3 separate regions of the Homo sapiens genome follow, and regions 1 and 2 are each linked to region 3. Evidence: promoter capture Hi-C in 16 types of primary human blood cells and fetal thymus (Javierre and others, 2016). All regions are on one chromosome and are shown on one strand. Each heading gives the region's core, a stretch centred on a gene start or on the middle of the fragment in contact. The rest is flanking DNA. Distances are from core to core; before and after follow the strand shown.

Region 1 (4,412 bases), core at 32-2,531, 120 kb after region 3:
ACGGTCCTACTTTCTGCAAGGTGTTTGACGTCCCTGTCTACCACACACTATAACTGCATGATACCTTCAGAATCCTGACAACCTAAGGACTGCCCCCACATTTCCAGACACCCATGTGAGTGGTGCTGATCACACTAAGAACCACAGTGTCTTGTGTTCATGCAGTAATTTTGAGAAATTAGTTTCCTGTGATTTGTTTCTTTCTTCCAGTGTTTAACCAAATAATAAAAATCCTTTAACGTTTTACATGTTATTTTTCACTTCAATAGAAGGCTATCACTATTGAGGGCCTGCTCTATGCAGACTAAAAGATAAGTAAGCTCCTTGCCTCTAGCCACTGACAATCTGGTTAGAGAAATAAGGCCTTAGTAGATGCAATAGCTAAGAAACAATTCAAGACACTATAAGATTAAGTCCAGAAATGACCAGAAAGACCTAGATTTATATTCTGGCTTTGTGCCACTTACTAGTGTGAGCCCAGTGACATTCTGTAAGCCTCTCTTTCCCTACCTGTAAAACGGGGGTATCATTAAACAATGCACATAAATTGCCACCACAGTATGTAAAGCATGAGATATACTTAATAAATGTTAGCCATATCCACCAATCACCACCCTCTCTGAATCAGGAAGAAATAGGACAAAAATGGGATACAGAGAGGATGTGCGTAAGAGAATAGACAGCATTCTGGGCAGGAGGCACAGCCAAGCAAAAGCGTGGTGTCAGGAATGTGCATGCCTGCGGCAGAAACTTACAGACTCTCAGACTGGATGAAGTGAAGGGTTCCAGTCAAGGAGTTATGAGAAGTGAACACATTAAAGTAAAGATAAGTTTACATTTGTTATGTGGACATGGAATCTCCTGGGGATTTTTGAATTTCTTCAGTATCACGACTTTCAAATACAGAAGAAATGCAAACCTACACAAAAGAAAATGAAGGAGTCTTCTAGCCATTCCCCCAGGGCTTCCCACACCAATGAGCGCGGATGCATCTATTACCAATCAATGTCTTTAAGAAGCCTGAAGAAATAAATGCATGGCACTGCTGTGGGACATATTTTTAATTCTTCTTTAAGTTCAAACCTGCCATCTAATTTATTTTCACTTTCAGTAAATGCCTTTTAAGCTTCTCAGACTTGAGCTAAGTCACATAGCTGATAAATAAATAGGATAAACCTACAGGAATATACTTGGTTCTTCAATCTTATGAAGTCTGAAAAATTGTATAAAGTCGACAACTTCAGCACTAATGGACCTAAAATGGCCAAGAAGCTATTGCTACTACTGTGTTACAATCGCTTTTGCTGGAGCATTCTTGTTTCTGCTGCTCATTAGGAAAAGTACTATCACACCCAGCAGAAAAGAATAATTGGCAAATCAACTAATTAAGGCAATATCGACACTCCTCTTGTCACCCAGTCACTTCTTTGTTGTAAATAAGCTTACTTGCTTACATTAAAGTCATTAGCTCTTCATATGTAAATAATAATGCACTTGAATTTAAACTGATTAGATATCTGAAAACAAACTTCAGTCCACTCTAATCTGGCCAGGATAGGGAAAACAAAGAGCATTATTGTCTTACTTAACCTGGTAAATTCAACACAACTGTATGAAGCTTCCGAATTCATTAATATCCAAATTCACCTTCCCTCCTGGACATTAGCCGGAATTCTATCTTTAGTTGTAAGACACACTATACTAAACAAATACTATAGTAATTAAAGAAACCACCCATTTCCTTCCCCCTAAGTTCCAGGAAGCCATGTTATTTCTGCAAACCAATTTCTATTTGCTGACTATTCTCCAGGGCTTTTAAAAGCAAATAAAATGTACCGGAAACTGTTTTCCAAATGACAACAAAGAATACATCTCCTACTCTCTCTTCTCCCCCAACAGGAAAAAACAAACAAACAAAAAAAGTGTGTGTTTGTGTGAATTTAAGGCATATACATTTAGGGTCTTGTTAAATCCTGAAAGATTGAAAGCCCCACAGTGTCCTGAAAGGAAATGTTTGAAGAAACTTCTCAAGTCTCTAAAGTTAGCTGGATCCTTTGCGACACTCACCTCTCATTTTGGCTCCTATAATTACCCCCTTTAACTTAATGCTGTTTATTTTTATATCTCTTCCCATCTTTCCTCATACCACTTTGTTTACAGCTGGTTAAAAAAAAAAGTTTATATTCACATATGTTCAATTCTGTCTTCATTTTCACTTCTCAGTTTCCCCTGCCCCATTTACCCTAGTGGGTTTGTTTGTTGGTTTTTTGTTTTAACTTCTTTATCATTGTCATTCTTCAGTCTAAACAGGATGAATTATTGATATAATCCCCAGCAAACAACTTCTTAACCACTTCCCACTCCTGAACCTTTAGTTTTTATTAAAGCACAAAGATTTATGTCAACCAAGAGTCCCATATAGTTCATTTCATCATGGGAGGAAGGGGGTTGGGAGAGGGGAGGAAATGAGACTTATTTTCATCCTGTTTGGATCCAAGACAAAGATCTTATGTCATCCAAAAGGGAGCCAAGACAAGACAGAGCCCCATGGTAATTGCCCACACTCTAACCTTTCTTGTCTCCCTTCTTGTCCCTCACAAATACCTCCCAGCAGGCCAGATTATTTTGTTAGAGAAGCTCCAAGCTGCCTACAACCCTGTAACAGGATAAAAGCTCTAGCAAGGTTTATGCAATGGACACTTATTTCCCTCACATCTCCCCTTCCTGCTCCTCAGATGATACCCTTCACTTCCTGTCCAGGTCAGGTTCCTGTACCGGAGGGCCACCCCAGGGTGCACTTCCTGCCTTCTAGCTGGTTTCATTGTCTGTGCCCTTAAAGCCCAGTCTTCCCCACGGGCTCCTGTGCTTTTCCACCCATCACATCATTCTGTTTACCTCTTGTTTGCTTTTTACTCCTTCCAAACTATCTCCTAGACCTGGAGTTCTCTCCCAGCTCTTTGCCTACATACCAATCTCAGCCTTTCTTAAAACCACGTTTCTCCCAGCAGTCACTCAGTAACTGCAGCCAATCAGGATTTTTGATATCCTGTCAACTTTGATTTGTTCTACCAACTTCATGGTGAAAATAACCACCACCTGCCGCATGATTCAGTCTTTTAAAGGCCTAGAACCACACACTTAACTAGGAATATTTGATATCTGAATTATGCTGTTTATCAAACCAAAGCCATGCTTTTGCTTTTGTGGGAGTTTTGTTTGTTTTACACTAAGCAAGACTATACCTACTGGCTACCTCCTCTGACCCCCTAGGTTAGATTACTTCCTACAGTTATTCTTTTACTCATAATCCACTTTACCTTTTGTTGTTGTATTTACGTATTTTGTTAGTGTACTGTGTGTAATAAATAGTTTGTCTAATTTTCAGTTTAGATAAGTTTTTCCCCCACCAACCTATAAATGTGTGAACTTATGAAGGGTTGGGGGAGCCAGGTGTTTCCTTGTCAAGCTGCCTCCCTTTCTGTCTCTTCCGCCTTCATTACTGTTCTGTTGCCAGCACAAACACAGGCCTGGCACATATGAGTTGATCAATAAATATATATTAAATGATGTGTATTCTCACACTATTTAAAAACTGGATAAATAATAAACACACGTGTACATACATACTGAATGAATGATACCACCACCCTTCCCCCACCCCCAGTCTTCTCCTTTCAGCACCACATCTGGTCCTCACCTCCAAGCATGGCAGCAGGCTGACCCTGCTAGGACTAGAGAAGCATATGCCGTACCCCTTGTTGAGCACATGGATACCTTTGAGGTCCTTCCTGAAACAGTGTTCAGGGTACAATTACGGTGGTAAGCCTGCCTTTAGCTGAAACAATGCATCTTTCTTTAATATTCTTCATTTTTTAAAAAAACCCATTTATAGAAAAAACAGTTTCTTCAATAAATGGTGCTGGGAAACTGGATATCCATATGCAGAAGAATGAAACCCAGACCCCTATGTCACCATATACAAAAATCAAATCAAAATGGATTAGAGACTTAAATCTGAGACCTCAAGCTATGAAACTACTACAAGAAAACATCTGGGAAACTCTCCAGGACATTAATCTGGGCAACAATTTCTTGAGTAATACCTCACAAGCATAGGCGACCAAAGTGAAAATGGACAAATGGGATCACATCGAGTTAAAAAGCTTCTGCACAGCAAAGGAAACAATCAACAAAGTGAAGAGACAACACAGAGAATGGGAGAAAATATCTGCAAACTACCCGTCTGACAAGGGATTAATAACCAGAATACGTAAGGAGTTAAACAACTCTATGGGAAAATACCTAACACTCTGATTTTAAAATGGGCAAAAGGTTTGAATAGACATTTCTCAAAAGAAGACATACAAATGACAAACAGGTATAAGAAAAGTACTCAAAATAATTGATCTTCA
Region 2 (4,105 bases), core at 363-2,862, 110 kb before region 3:
AAGATCGAGACCATCCTGGCCAACATGGTGAAACCCCATCTCTACTAAAATACAAAAAATTAGCCAGGCATGCTGGCACACGCCTGTAGTCCCAACTACACAGGAGGCTGAGGCAGGGGAATCGCTTGAACCCAGGAGGTGGAGGTTGCAGTGAGCCAAGATTGCACCACTGCACTCCAGCCTGACAACACAGCAAGACTCCGTCTCATAAAAAAATAAATAAGCTACTACTATAAATTATACACATTATACAATATAATACTAATTTTAAGCACTAAAAAAGTATCTGATTACTTAAGAGAACCACTCCTTCGTAAATTGTTGAGAAAATGTAATTGGAATAAAAATTAATGTTCTGTGCATGAAAAGCAATAAAGGAAGCACTAACAATTCTGCAGAACTACTACATGCTAGGTACTTAATTCTCCCAACGACCTTAAGATGAGGCTACTGTTATTGAAGACACAGGTTTTAGACTTTGCAGCTGATAAAAGAATAAGACAGGATTGGTCTCACTCTTGCTTTATCAGTTCAACCAGTTGCAATTTTTACAATTTTAAATTACAGGGATGAATGAATGGTATTATTTTACAAGTTGATAAGCTATTTGCAATTGATGATACAAGTTACTTATTAAACAGTCTACAAAAAATGGAAACACAATATTCTGTTTGCCAATTTTTGCCAGACTTTAAAATTAATTACATGCAACCGACATGAAGAAATGTGTCTCTCTAAATACCAATTACTGTTCAGGCTCTCAAAATGTTAATTAAAGTAGACGATGAAATCTTAAAAACTAACAGAAATTATTTTCATTTCTATTTTGATCACTAGCAATTAGGTAAATTATTTTATGAATCCAATAAGGTGACTGCTAAATTCTCTTTCAAGTCTGAGAGTATTTGAGTTCTGTAAGAATCTCTAAAATGTCTTCTTACATAAACAATTTTCCAAATATTATGGCTAGGAAAGAGTATAAACATAAAGAAGTTTACATTACACATAACTTATTTTTTGAACAATTATACTATCTGACTTACCCAAATCAAACTAATTGGAAAATATATTTTATTAGGTGCTGCAAAATGCTTAGAATGTCACCAGAAGCAATGAGAGGATGTCCAAATACAGTGGTACTGGGAATTCCAGTCCTTGGAGTCTATCATGATAATTTGTCATGCTGTTTTATCTTAAGAGTGGCTCAAGAAAACGGACTTGCAAGGAAGCCCAAAAGGCAGGTACCTTAGAGAAATCAGATAAGCTTCACAAAAATAAGAAATAATTTCATGAGTTAATAATGAAACAGAGAAAATGACAACAAAATTAATAATTCATTGGTCATTATGGGAGAAAATCAGAAAACCAACCACTTATGTTGAAAGCTAGCAAATAAAGGAAGATAATTAAGTATTTAACCTGGCTTTCTTATATGATAAGTTCCTCAGAACATCCAAATAGGAGTAGATTCTATTTATTGAATTATCCCAGCTTATGAGTAAAGAAGATAAAATAGAATTTAAAAATTATTATTTTGTAGTGCCTTATGAATTAACGGATCTAGACAATAATTGTCAGGGGTTGTTATCATCGTAAAAATAAAGATCATACATCATGTGACCCAGTGAAAGCAAACAATGCTACCTATAAAGTGTTCTAGCTAAAACATCAAGCTAAATCTGATCAAGTCTCTCTGTATAATTGTTAATGTATGGTAAATAAAGAGGAGAATATATTAAATGACACTATGAAAATGCAGTCAGAAAATACAGACTATGAGAAACTCTGTGAGACAAATGGCCGAATGTCCTGAACAAATACATTTCAAAAAGGAGGAAGAGAAGGAAAAGAAGAAAGGAAAGCAAAATCATAGGAAATATGGTAGAGTTTACAGAAATGTGTTGCTTCAATGAGTGGCAAAAACAGCACTAGACTAAACAATACTTTGGTCCTGCCTAACAAAGCTTAAACAACAAGATCTGAAAAGATCAAACTGTTTGCAACTAATTTAACTGTGTCCCAGAAGAAAACTCAAGAATATTTACAGAAATATAAAAATGTCTAGGATCCAACAAGGTAAAATTCATAATATTTGACATTTGATCAAAATTACCAGCCGTGCAAAGATGCTGTAAAATATGACCCATAACGAGGGAAAAAAATCAATCAATTGAAACCAACCCAGAGTGGACACAAATGTTACAATTAATCAATAAGGATATTTTAAAAGTTGCTATAACTCTATTCCATATGTTCTAGAAGTTAGAGAAAGACTGATCATGTTCAATAGAGCAATGGAAAATATTAAAAAGACTCAATTCAAACTTCTAGAGATAAAAACTACAATGTATGAGGTGAAAAATATTCTGAATGGGACTAACAGATAGGCACTACAAAAGAAACGATTAGTGATCTTGAAGATGTAGCAATAGAAACTATTCACAATGAAACACAGAAAAGACTGGGAAAAAACAACCCACAGAATCAGTGAGCTGTGGGACAACTACAAATGGGCTAATATATGTGTAATTAGCATTCCAAGAGGAGAAGAGACAGAAGGAGATACAGAAAAAAGTTTTTGAATAAATAATGCTGAACAATTTCAAATTTGATGAAAACTATATACTCACAAATACAAGATTCCCAATCAACTCCAAGCACAAGAAGCCTGAAGAAAACTACATCAATTCACATCATAATCAAATTGCTTAAAACAAGTAATAATGAGAAAAATAAAAGGCACGAATATGTTATGAGTAAAAGGATGGAAAAAGACATAGCACACTAACATCAATCAAAAGAAAGCTGGAGTGATTCTATTAGCATCAAAAAAGAAGTGGATTTCAGGACAAAGAATATTATTAGGGACAATAAGGGTAATTTTATAATGATAAATGTGTCAATTCATCAAGAGAATATAACAATCATAAACATTTCTGTACCTAATAACAGAAATTCAAAATACATGAAGCAATATCTGATAGAACTTCAAGAAGCAACAGAAGTTCACAATTAATGTCAGAGATACCAATAATTGATAAAACAAGTAGAAAAAAGTTAATAAAGAGAGAGAAAAAGTAAAAAGCTGTCACAACTAAATCTAATTGAAATGTATAAAATACTCAGCCCAACAATGGCAGAATACATATTCTTTTCAAATATACATAGAACATTTACCAAAATAGACCAAATTCTGGGTTATGAAACATGGATCAGCAAATATAAAGGGATTCAAGTCATACAAAGTATGGTCTCTGGCCAAAATGATATCAAATTAGAAATCAAAATTAGAAAAGTATCTAGAAAAATTCCCACATATAAAAACTAAATAACACTCTTCTAATAACCCATATATAAAAGAAAAAATAAAAAGGGAAATTAGCAAGTAATTTAAAGCAAATAAACATGAAAGCACAACATAGCAAAGATTGTGAAATGTAACTAAAGAAGTACTTAGAGGGAAATTTATAGTTCTAAACTCCTATAATAAAAAGTTAGAAAATCACAAATTAATAATCTCAGCTTCCAAATAAAGAAAAAAAAATTTCAAGTTAATGACCCAAGTTTCTAGCTTAAGAAACTAGAAGGAGCAGACTAAATATAAATTTAATAGAAGAAAATGAATAATAATGTTCAGAATAAAAATCACTGAAATAAAAACAGAAAAGTAATAAAGAAAAATCAATGAAACTAAAAACTGGTTCTTTGAGAAATCAATAAAATTGATGAATTTTTAGCCAGACCCATGAGAAAGAAAAAATAAAGACAAAAATTACCAATATCAGAAATAAGAGAAGTGACATCATCCTGTACTATGCAGATATTAAAAGCATATTAAGGAAATATCATGAAAAATTATCTGGCTATAAATTTGGTGAATTTGATGAGATGAATAAAATCACTGAAAGACACAAACTACCAAGGTTCCTTCAAAAAGAAATAGATAATCTGAAAAAATAACCTTGCATCTACTAAAAAATAGAATACATAGTTTAAAATCTTCCCACAAAGAAAACTCTAAGCAAAAATGGCTTCACTGGTAAATCTTGCCAAACATTTAAGAAAAAATAAGTCTATACTAACACTTTCTGAAAATTGAAAAGGT
Region 3 (4,565 bases), core at 1,672-4,171:
TGCCATGCTCGCACACATCACATGTGGGACACTAAGCACTGATCTGTGTACTCAAACCAGGCCCTTAATAGGCAACATCTCATTTAAACCCTCCCAGTAATCCTATGCAACAGACTTCCTAAAATCTCACTTGGTGAAACTAGCTCAATTTGCCCAACATCACACAGCTATTATAATTCAAATTTAGGCTAATTCATTCATTCAAAAAATAGTTTCAAGAAGCAATAGAATGTTCCAAGGCCTGTGTTAGGTACTGGGTGGTGAATAAGACAGAGCCCTACTCTCAGAGATCTAATATACTAGTAAGGAAGAATTAAATAAGCAGGTATAATGAGGTCAGTCTGTCTCCCTTCTGTTCTATCACCCTCCGGGAAACTCTGGCCCAGGACTCTGCCTTCCCTGGGACACAGGGAGGAGGCATGTGTGATAACAAGAACATGACCTCTGAAATTACATGCTTTGCACAAAACAGACTTGATTTCAAATCATGGTTCTGCCACTTACTAGCTGTAAAGCTGGGGCAGCGACCTCATCTCCCTAAGCTTCCATTTCTCAAGACCTTGGGAGCACTCTTCCCCAGCATTGTCCCCTCAGCTTTCAGGTCTCAGCTCAAATATCACCTCCTCAAAAAGAGCCTTTCCCAACCATCTAATCTAAAGCATTTTCCCTCCAATCCACTCCTCCCGCATGTTATGTATCACACTTCCCTACAATTTTATATAAAAACCTGAAATTCCCTTAATTATTGAGTGACTTGCTTACTGTTTCTCTCCACAGTTAAGGGACTTTGGTTCAGGGCTATATCCCTAGTGTTCCCAGACCAAACTGAGGGTCAGGCTGCTATTTCTCTCGGCCAATAACGAGATGCAGATAAACTAGGGAGAAAGAGAGTTTTTATTTCTATAACCAGTTACGGGAAGAAGGCCTGCAAATTATCACCAGACGAACCCCAAATTACAAAGTTTTTCAGAGCTTATATACCTTCTAAGCTATATGTCTACGTGTAAGTGTGCATTCATCTAAGGATATAAGTGATTAACTTCTTTTAATCTATAACTAAGGTCTGAGTCCTGAAGACCTTCTTCTGGAGCATCAGTAAATTTACTTAATCTAAATGGGTCTAGGTGCTGGGCTGATTACCCTTATCTTGTCTCCTGCTGAATCATGGAGGTTTGAGGAGTTCCTTCAGACCGCCAATAAATTTGTGGAGGCCTGGGGAGTTTCTTCAGACCCCCAGTAAAACTTGTTTAATCCTAAACGGATCCTGTTAAGAATTCCTTATTTTGTCATGCTTTATGGCCCAGGAAAGGCCTAGGCAATACTCTTGATGGGCTTTTGTGACATCCCAGCCTTTGTGTAAGGGCACTGGCTTTTTTTAGCTTTCAATATTTAACTTAACCGCTCAGTCAGTACCGAAACAGTTGTGATGGAGGCCTCCATTAGTGAAACCTGGCCTGCCACACTAGCTGCTGGGAATAGTCCTGGCTCATAGTAAACCTTCAATAAATACTTGATTAATAAATGAATAAATCAACCAGGCCAACTGAACTTTTAATATATCATTTGGTAAACTTAGCCCAAGGTTTACTTAGCCCAAGTTATAACGGCTTGGCCCAAGTTATAAACTTAGCCCAGGTTAGAATGGCTATTAGCCTGCTCAACTTACCTAATTGATCTGATCTAAGTCCAGCCCATGGGTACTTTCGCCCCACGGAGGAATTACAAGACTCGGACAAATAAGACTTTTTCCACAGGAAGTTCCTCTGGTATTCACTCAGCCCCTGTAATGCAAAGTACACTTTTGAGTACAGTCCAATTAATGAATGATGTTTTAAAGCAGACATCGGTGAAAAATAATTTCTGAACCTCCCAAAAGAGACTTAAGACTGAAAATTAAACACAGACGAGCTCCTTAATAAGAGCTAATATTCACCCAGCCCTGTGCTAAGCAGTTCACACGTGTTATATCCTTTAATCCACAACACCACTTGAGGCAGATGCTACCAGGAATTCCAGGCTCAGAGGTTACCCTTTCACTGATTATCTGATTCCAAAGCATGAGTTCTTGTCGGATAACTAATGACAATCTAAATTCTCATCATTCTAGATTTATCGCAGGTTTTCACCGAGTACACAATATTATGTACCATGCCTAGGACCTTTTGCTATTTGATAAAGTCAACAAAAGGCAAACTCCCCTTCCATTCTGAATACACGCCTTTAAGATAAATGAGTCAGGAGATGTGGGACGCTGTGGCCACCTGTGAAGTTGCAGGGTGCTAGTCCCTGACAGCTACCAGCTACCTGGAACTTTTAACATACGCTAAGAATGCACAACGATGAAAAACGTGTATTTCTTTATACGCTGTCTTTACTAAGAACCCATTTCTCAAGCCTTTAAAAGCCACATACACTAAAGTTTTAAAGGTAATGGGGGTTAAATGCTAAGCTAAATGGGCCACAGGTGTCCCAATCTGAAGTCGCCTTTAGTTCTCTTCGCAAAGGGACCTCCTCCCATCTCCACTCCTCTTGAGTCCCCCTAAGTAAATGTGTCTCGCACCATCTGACTCTTCGACACACTGCAGCTTGCAAATGTGAGTGAGCGGAGAGGGAACTAGGTTAAGAGGCGGCGGGCAGATTCTGGGGCCCCTCGAGCAGGCCCTGGGGCTGGCAGCTTCCGCCGGGCAGAGGGCTGCAGCGCAGAAAAGCAGCGTGACCTCGGCGCTCCACACCTCCCCGGCCATGGCTCCCCCCAGCCACATTCCGGCCCGGGGACCCCAGCCTCACCTTGAAGCGCACCGGCATGTCGCCCGGCGCCGGAGCCCCCGCTACTCCGACAGTTAACTGGAGAAAAAGCTCCGAGGGGGCGGGGCGATAACAGTGTTCCCTAGCAAAGCCTCGGCCCGGCGTCCCCGACTACGCGCCGGCGCACTCCGCGCTTCCCGCCTAGAGGCCTGTCGGTCTGTTTTTCCCCGCCCTTTTTGGAGCCTAGGGACCAATAGAGACTCGCAGAGTGCCTTACCTCCATTAGGATTTGACCAATGAGTGGCCGAAAGGGAGCCGCCTACCTCCCTTGCCAAATCCCTGGGGCTGATAGAGATGGCGGGCGGAAGGCCGGCCAATAAGGCTCCCGGAACCGGGCTGGGCGGGACCCCGGGGGTGCCTTCCTGGGTTGGGTGGACCGGTCCCTGGTTCGCCGGGTCCTGCGCAGCAATGCGTCTGCTTGCTGGTGGAATTCGCCAGCCGCCAGCCTCGCTGGCCCAGGTGCTTGACAGCATCAAAGGTCAAAGTGTGTTCTTCATGCTAACATCTATGAGAAAACCGAACGCTTCTTTTTCTGAAAGTGCTCAGATTTATTCTGCTGAATATCGGTTCGTACAAACGACAGCCGCATTACAGTTTATTGTCACATCAAAAGGGAAAGGCCAAAAAAATATATAACTTAGGCAAGATTTTTGAAACTTTATTGAAACTCGAAAGACAAACTGCTGTCTCTTCCTCCAGTGATGTTCTTCCTCCTTCAATCTCTACCTTCCCCAAAATGATGTACATACAGCCCTTAGATGAGAAAACGTTTATTGAAGATGGTTGTCTCAACTTCCAAACCTTCAGCCTTGTCTCTCCGCTCAACCTTTTTTTAAAAATAAAACTTCATCTGATTTTAATCGACTATTGCCATCATCGTCGATAAATGTTTCTTGACAGAATACTGCTGATTCTGAGAATTGGGAAAGAAAGAAATTGTCCAGATAGTTCTCTGATATACTTGGGAAGGACATACATCTTTATTTATTTATTTATTCATTATTTATTCAATAATGGTGTAATGTGACATGTGCTAAATTTCTAAATGAAAGGTGTCAATAATAAGGGCTACAGGATCTGGGAGCAGGGAGTCATTTCGGACGGCAGAAGATGCGTCAGGAGGAAATATTCAGACTGAAAGGACTGCAATAAGTAAAAAGTGGGACGATGAAAGGGCAGATGTCTGAATGGAATGCTGCCAGGCTTCTTCCAGGAACAACAAATGAGTGCCTTTTACATTTGTCATGTGTTGACTGAATAAAAGTATACCACTCTTAAACTTTCAAATATCAACACCAATCCTTGATGCTTCCCTTTAAGCATTTTCCGCAAAAGCTGTCTTCCTGAATCCTGATTGATGTCTTTGTTCTTCATCATCATCGAGATACTTAAAAATCATTTGAAGAAGCCACCTGATATCTGGAACAAAGAGCATATTAAATTAGTCCCAATGCAGCCATGCATCCAGGGGGCCCTTGATTAATGTTAATTGGTGATGACAGCATCTCTGTCGTGTAAATTAAGAATGGCACAAACAAGACACAGTGGAACATAGAACAAAAGTCATCTGCAGGAAGGCAGCCCATCTTACAGAGTAAGAAAGGCACAACTTTGGTTGTGCACACAGCTTTGTTACCACAAAATGCTAAGGTGAGATCAGCAAAAGCAAGTGTGTAGAATGTAGCCTGCCTGCTAAACAAGCGCAATGATCACTGCAGAAGAGCTCTGCTGAGCAGGGAGTAAATGACAGGAAAACCAAA

What was found. Contacts are between HindIII fragments. The CHiCAGO score rates a contact against its expected background, and 5 or more counts as called.
Region 1: a fragment that was not itself captured here is called in contact with the fragment with the promoter of MDM1 in region 3 in 1 of 17 cell types (megakaryocytes); the score reaches 5.5 in megakaryocytes.
Region 2: a contact is called between a fragment that was not itself captured here and the fragment with the promoter of MDM1 in region 3, in 1 of 17 cell types (activated CD4 T cells). The highest score is 5.7, in activated CD4 T cells.

What each region holds. Positions count from the first base shown.
Region 1 is chr12:68,453,378-68,457,789 of GRCh38, forward strand. No RefSeq gene overlaps it. Among named protein-coding and RNA genes, the nearest start is that of LINC02384, 4.1 kb to the left of the region's middle. The HindIII fragment of the contact is 315 bases long and covers 1,125-1,439 here.
Region 2 is chr12:68,216,083-68,220,187 of GRCh38, forward strand. The region is part of intron 3 of IL26 (interleukin 26); the gene reads right to left. Among named protein-coding and RNA genes, the nearest start is that of IL26, 7.7 kb to the right of the region's middle. The HindIII fragment of the contact is 700 bases long and covers 1,263-1,962 here.
Region 3 is chr12:68,329,441-68,334,005 of GRCh38, forward strand. MDM1 (Mdm1 nuclear protein) reads right to left here and starts at 2,922. Exons shown (of 15, transcript NM_001354969.2): 1 at 2,788-2,922; 2 at 1,667-1,781. The coding sequence starts at 2,805. LOC105369819 (a long non-coding RNA gene) reads left to right here and starts at 3,191. Exons shown (of 3, transcript XR_945057.3): 1 at 3,191-4,565. RefSeq lists an enhancer at 2,473-2,562 and a silencer at 2,863-3,122. The HindIII fragment of the contact is 10,890 bases long and covers 541-4,565 here.